Linked DNA regions of Homo sapiens: region 1 is linked to region 2. The links are contacts of gene promoters, found by promoter capture Hi-C in blood cells and fetal thymus (Javierre and others, 2016). All regions are on one chromosome and are shown on one strand. The core of a region is centred on a gene start or on the middle of the fragment in contact, and the rest is flanking DNA. Distances in the headings are between cores, read along the strand shown.

Region 1 (2,786 bases), core at 283-2,782, 920 kb after region 2:
ATTGTTTGAGACATAAAATTTTTCAAAACTTCATCCTTTCTCAGAAAGCTACTGTAGTATGTACTAACAAAAAATGCGAGTGTAAACTAAGAAATAATAAGATAAGTGAGCTGGGAACCAGGGGCACCTGCAGAAGAGAAAAGTCAAGAAAATATCCAGGAGGATAGGGCTGAGGGAGCCACATTTCAAATTGGAGCAGGAGGATGGAATAGAACTGAAAGCTTATTTGACAATATTGAGAGAGGCATTTGTAGGACTGTTGCAGGATATGAGATGATTTAGCCAGCTGTTCAAGAAAAAATAATAATCAAATGAAAAAAATTGAGGCAAACATTAACTTGAGGAAAAACAAAAAGTTGTACAAGAAAGGGCATGTAATCCTGTACACAACTTGGCACAGACAGGAACAATATTAACATCATAAATTTTAAAATCACTGCATAAGAATTTGACTAACATTGTGACAGAACAATATTGGAAAAGGAAATGGACTATAAAGAAGCTAAAACCCTCCGCATGACAGAAGGTCAGTGTATTATCTAAAATTGATAGCTCAAAGTACAGCAGTGTACTCACACTATTTAGAAACGAGTGGCTCTGGAAAGTGTGTATGTTAAGAAGGGGTGTTGTAAACTAGGGTCAGATGTCTGTTTCTGATATCTTGTTATAACTTTTTATTACTCTTGGCCTTTTAAATTAAGATAAATCATTACATTACTAAAAAGAAATAATTTAAAAATTAGGCTGAGAAAAAAATTGGCTGTTAGAGGAAAAAATATTAGTAATTAGTAAATTTTTGCCAAGGCAAAAATCCTTAAAAGAATTAAGGATAGCCTATATAATTAAAAAGTCTGAAGGTTTCATTTTAGGTGCCAGTCACTGAAGTTTTCAGATTAAAATTTAATAAGGCAAATTCCAATCCTGAAAATCTTATAGTTAGTGGAGTAGGCATATACAAGCATACATTTACAATGTAACATGAAAAGTGCTACAGTAAGGGCATATGTAATTTGAGACCACAGAAGAAAGACAGACAATCCTTGTTTGGGGTAGAGTTGGAGATGTCTCTCCAGAAGAGTTGACATTAGAAATGAGAATTGAAGGATAAGTGGGTTCAGCTGACTGACTAGATAGGCAAGAGCATTCTAGGTTTAGATGCTCACCATGAGAAAGCTCAGCATGTCTGGGAAAGAGTAATAAGTTTGGCATGGCTTGAAAGCAGGCTGTGAAGCTGGGAATGACCAACCATATGCCTGGAGTGGTAGACTGAGGCAGGTCTTAGAGGGCTTTGTGAGTTGTGCTAAGGGGTTTGGAATGTAAGGATTTTACCCTGTGGTGTAATATGTCAAACACACATCTTAGAATGATCACTGGCTCTGGGGAAGCCAGTGGAAGACCAAATGCAGGATGCAAGTCTGGGGAAGTCATTAGAAGACTAGCATAGAAAGTGAGGGCTAGAGAGAAGGGAAGAATTGAGAAATATTTTAGAGGCTGATTCAGTAACAAGTCATAGTGACCAACGCAAGATGCAGGAGTCAAAGATGACTTTGATGTTGATACATTCATTAGACATTTATTGTGTGTCTTCTCTGTGGTAGGCGTAGAGTTGAATATGGCATGGTTGTTGCCCAGAGGAGCTTTTTCTTTAGTGACAACACAGACAATAAATTAACAGTAACCATAGCTCTGGTGTTCTATGCTCCAAGGGCTTGGAGAGCATTGGAATCAGCAGACAGGCAGGTAAAGCAGTCTGGCAGACGGCAACCTTGTGGAAGAGTTTCTGGATGGGCAGCCAGGTTGGGGTGTTGGGTTGAATGTGTAATTGAGTATGATGTGGTAACCAGGATAGGGATGTTTAGTTGCCCAGTGAAAATCAGAGCCTAGAAGGGAGGAGAGGGACTCCTCTGTGAGTATAGAGTTGGATGCATGCAGGTTGAGGACGGTTGAAGCCAGGAAAATCTAGAGGAAATGTGAACAGGACCAAGAGGAGGATGAAGCCCAGAAAGACTTGAGAAGGAGCTGTCAAAGGAGGAGGAGAACCTACAGTGGGTAGAGCTATTGAGCTGAGGGGGTAAGAGTCTGAGAAAAGAATCTTCCATGGTGCCATGGTGACAGATGCTGCCAAGAAAGTGGGTAGCAGGGCCAAGGTGTCCTCCAGGTAAGAAAATTAGGCTGGCATTGATGATCTTAGAATGGCAGGAAGGGGTTTCCTTCCAGATGTCATGGGGTATGGAGAAAAGGTGATGAGGATGCTAAGAAATGAATATGGCTCTCTCTCAGAAGTTGGTTAGGAAGTGATGATGAGATAAGCCAGGGAGCTAGAGTGAGAAGTGGGCTTCATAAAGATGCAGCTTTTAAGATGGAAAACACTTGAGTATTTATTCTCATTAGGATTGAGTACATAACTTATGGGGCCCAGTGCACAACTAAAATGCCGGGACTCCTTAAAAAAGTATTTAAAAAATTCAAGACAACAACAGCTAAACATTAAACCAATTTGGGACCCTTTAAAGTGCAGAGCCCTGTGTGGCTTCAAGAGTTGCACATCAGGAAGCAGGCCCTGGTTCTCAGGGTAAGGGGCCAGGGGAGGAAGGTGGAAGTGAGTGGATCAGTGATAGAGCCCCAGGCAAGAGCAAGTGGGATGAAAGGGACCCAGGGTCCAGGTGGGGGCAGAGCCTTGAATGGGAGGAAAAGTATGACTTTGGTCACCTTCTGAGAAGTGGGAGATGGAAGATGGAGAGGAGATGGAAAATAAGATGAAAGATGAAGAGGAGAGGGTGCTAGAA
Region 2 (2,947 bases), core at 315-2,814:
GGCCCTGTTGCCCAGGCTGGAGTACAATGGCGGGATCTTGGCTCACTGCAACCTCTGCCTTCTGGGTTCAAGCGATTCTCCTGCCTCAGCCTCCCAAGTAGCTGGGATTGCAGACGTGTACCACCACGCCCGGCTAATTTTTATAATTTTAGTAGAGACGGGGTTTCACCATGTTGGCCAGGCTGGTCTCGAACTCCTGACCTCAGGTGATCCCTCTGCCTCGGCCTCCCAAAATGCTGGGAGTACAGGCGTGAGGCTCTGCACCCGGTCTAATCATATTTTTTAAATTGGGCAGGAGGTATATGATAGTGTTTGTACAACTTCAGCAAATGATGACTACTTTAAAAATCTTACGTGCGCCTCCGTCTTCCATCGTTATGTATCCTGCCATTTGACTTATTTTCTCACTTCACCAAGTATTGTTCTAGGCCCTGTATAAAGCCTGTGAGTTCATAAAGTTGTTACCAAATAAATGATACAACTTTACACAATGATGTGCTATGAAACAAACAATAGCAGACACACATATTAACAGAATTTACTATGTGCCAAGCACTGTTTTGAACACCTTAGTAAAAATAAACAAAGGTTAAATCCTCATAAAAGCCCTAGATTATTTTTACCCCCATGTTGTAGACGGGGAAGCAGTCACAGCAAAGCCAGGTACTCTGGCCAAGGGCAAAGCTGGGGTCTGAACCCAGGCCGTCCACATTTATCCATGGTGCTGTGTGGTTAGAGGCCATAGGCAGCAGGGGCCCTTGTGGTGACCCCTGCGCGTTGTCTCAGCGCAGAGGAGGAAGTGGCGGCAGGCAGCCGCGCTCCCAGATGAAGCGGGGCCAGAAGAGTCTGGGGAACAAGACCTGAGAGGTGGGAAGGGTTGAGGCCACCGGTTTGGAGCCGTCAGGTACCCTAAGGGATATATGAGGGACCCCGGGGCTAAAGCAGCCTCTGGAAGAGAGTGGCCGCCCTGTCACTTCAGCACCAGGCGCAGAATCTGTGCTAAACCTGAGGTGAGGGTAAGGAACCCCCGACACCGCACGACAACCAGAAAGAACGTCCCTGGAGGGGAGGCTTCGATCAAAGCCTGGGACGCAGGGGTCTTTCTGCAGGGGACGCCGCTCTCGGCTCTACCCTGCTGTGGTGGGCCGGCTCTGGGAGGGCTGGCTTCCGACCATCTCCCGACCTCCCGCGCCCACCGCGCCGCGCCGCGCGCCTCCCAGGCTGGGAACCGCCGGGGCGAAGCGGCAGGTGGCGCGGGTTCACCTGGCAGGGCAGGCGCCCGGGGTCCGCCGGGGAAGGACGAGGGGAAGGGGTGCGCGGACTCAGGGGCAGGCAGCGGAGGGGAGGGGCCTGGGGATCTGGGACGGTGTAAGGGTGCTGCACTTGCGCGCGAAGGGAGGGGTGGCGACGAGTCCGCGGCCGCCTCTCCGCGTCCCCCTTCCACCACCCGGGGACCACCGCCTCTGACCGCAGCCTGGGGGCCCTAAAGAGGCCTCGGGTCTCACCTCCCGACGCCGTCGGGGAGAAACCGGGGAACTGCCAGCTGCGCAACAACTTCCGGTTCTGGTGGCGGGTCGGGGCGGGGCCCGGAACGCGGGGACGTTGCCATGGAGAAGAGCCGCTGTGGCCGCGCACTTGGGACAGGGAAAGAGAACCGGGAGGCTCGACCGGTGGGAATCCAGCTGCTCTGCTCAGTGTTCCGTTCAATAAACTAGCATTGTTGCTTCGCAAAGTGCTTTTGCTTACATTATTCATTTACTCCGGTAACTCAGTAAGGTTATTCCCATTTTACAGAAAATAAACTCAAATGTCCTGTGACTTGCCAAGGATTACAGAGAGGGGCGAATGCTGTGCTGTCTACCGCTGAGTACAATCCCTAATACCATTCCCACTCCCGAAGTGGTTACACCCCAAGTACTGACGTTTTAAGGGACAAGTTTGACATCCGCAACCCCATGCTTTCACAGGAGAACACAATGGCCCTTGAAAAAGTGAGAACTGACCCACATAAAATTTGTTACAATACATACACATATCTCTCCTCAGATAATCTTAATCTCAATTGAAAAATAAGTTTGAGGCCGGGCGCGGTGGCTCATGCCTGTAATCCCAGCACTTTGGGAGGTCGAGATGGGCAGATCACATGAGCCAAGGAGTTCGAGACCAGCCTGGCCAACATGGCTAAACCGCATCTCTACAAAACATACAGAAATTAGCCGAGTGTAGAGACGCATGCCTGTAGTCCCCGCTTCTTGGGAGGCTGAGGGGTGAGGATCACCTCAATCTGGGGAGGTGGAGACTGCAGTTAGCCATGATTGCGCCACTGCCCTCCAGCCTGGGCTGCAAAGTGAGAGCGTCTCAAAAAATAAATAAATAAATAAATTTAAGCCTAAATGCACCACAGCCCCACCTCGTGACTTCCTTCTCTAGCCCCTTTCCCTAGGGACTCCTGGAAAATGTACTTGTACTCGTAACTGAGGAATTAGGGAGAGGACGGAGATGCTTGAAAAGCACTTGCTAATTAATAAAGAACAATAACAAAAAATCCCTTTTGGTATGACGCCGCCCCAAAAGTATGTTAGTACTGGAATCTGAAGTGAAGAAAGAAGAGGCTGGTTTACTCAGTTTATGACGCTAGGGGACTAGGGAGAGGTTTGGATCCCAATTAGAGTACAGTAAAACTAAATCTGAAGAAATTCTTGCTTCAAACAAGGGGCTTTCACAGGATAAGACTTTTTGCTGATGCAGCTGCCAACACAAATAGCAAACAGCCCAAAAGTGCAGGTGGGAATGTGTTTCTGGCGCTGGTGGGTAGGGTAGGTTAAATGACTCACGTCAGGGGAGAATTTGAAACGAGGGCAAGGCTTGGCAGTGGTGTGAAGTCACAGGAGACAATTTAAGGAGAATATGAACGACAGTCAGAAGCTTCAAGGAGAAGGAGGAACTG

The links. The method cuts DNA at HindIII sites, captures the fragments that hold promoters and counts their contacts. A CHiCAGO score of 5 or more calls a contact.
Region 1: a fragment that was not itself captured here is called in contact with the fragment with the promoter of ZNF396 in region 2 in 1 of 17 cell types (total B cells); the score reaches 6.5 in total B cells.

What each region holds. Positions count from the first base shown.
Region 1 is chr18:36,292,833-36,295,618 of GRCh38, forward strand. No RefSeq gene overlaps it. Among named protein-coding and RNA genes, the nearest start is that of FHOD3, 3.5 kb to the right of the region's middle. The HindIII fragment of the contact is 2,627 bases long and covers 220-2,786 here.
Region 2 is chr18:35,375,773-35,378,719 of GRCh38, forward strand. It overlaps ZNF396 (zinc finger protein 396), which reads right to left and starts at 1,565. Exons shown (of 4, transcript NM_001322286.2): 1 at 1,506-1,565. RefSeq lists silencers at 1,081-1,270, 1,281-1,350. The HindIII fragment of the contact is 6,702 bases long and covers 1-2,923 here.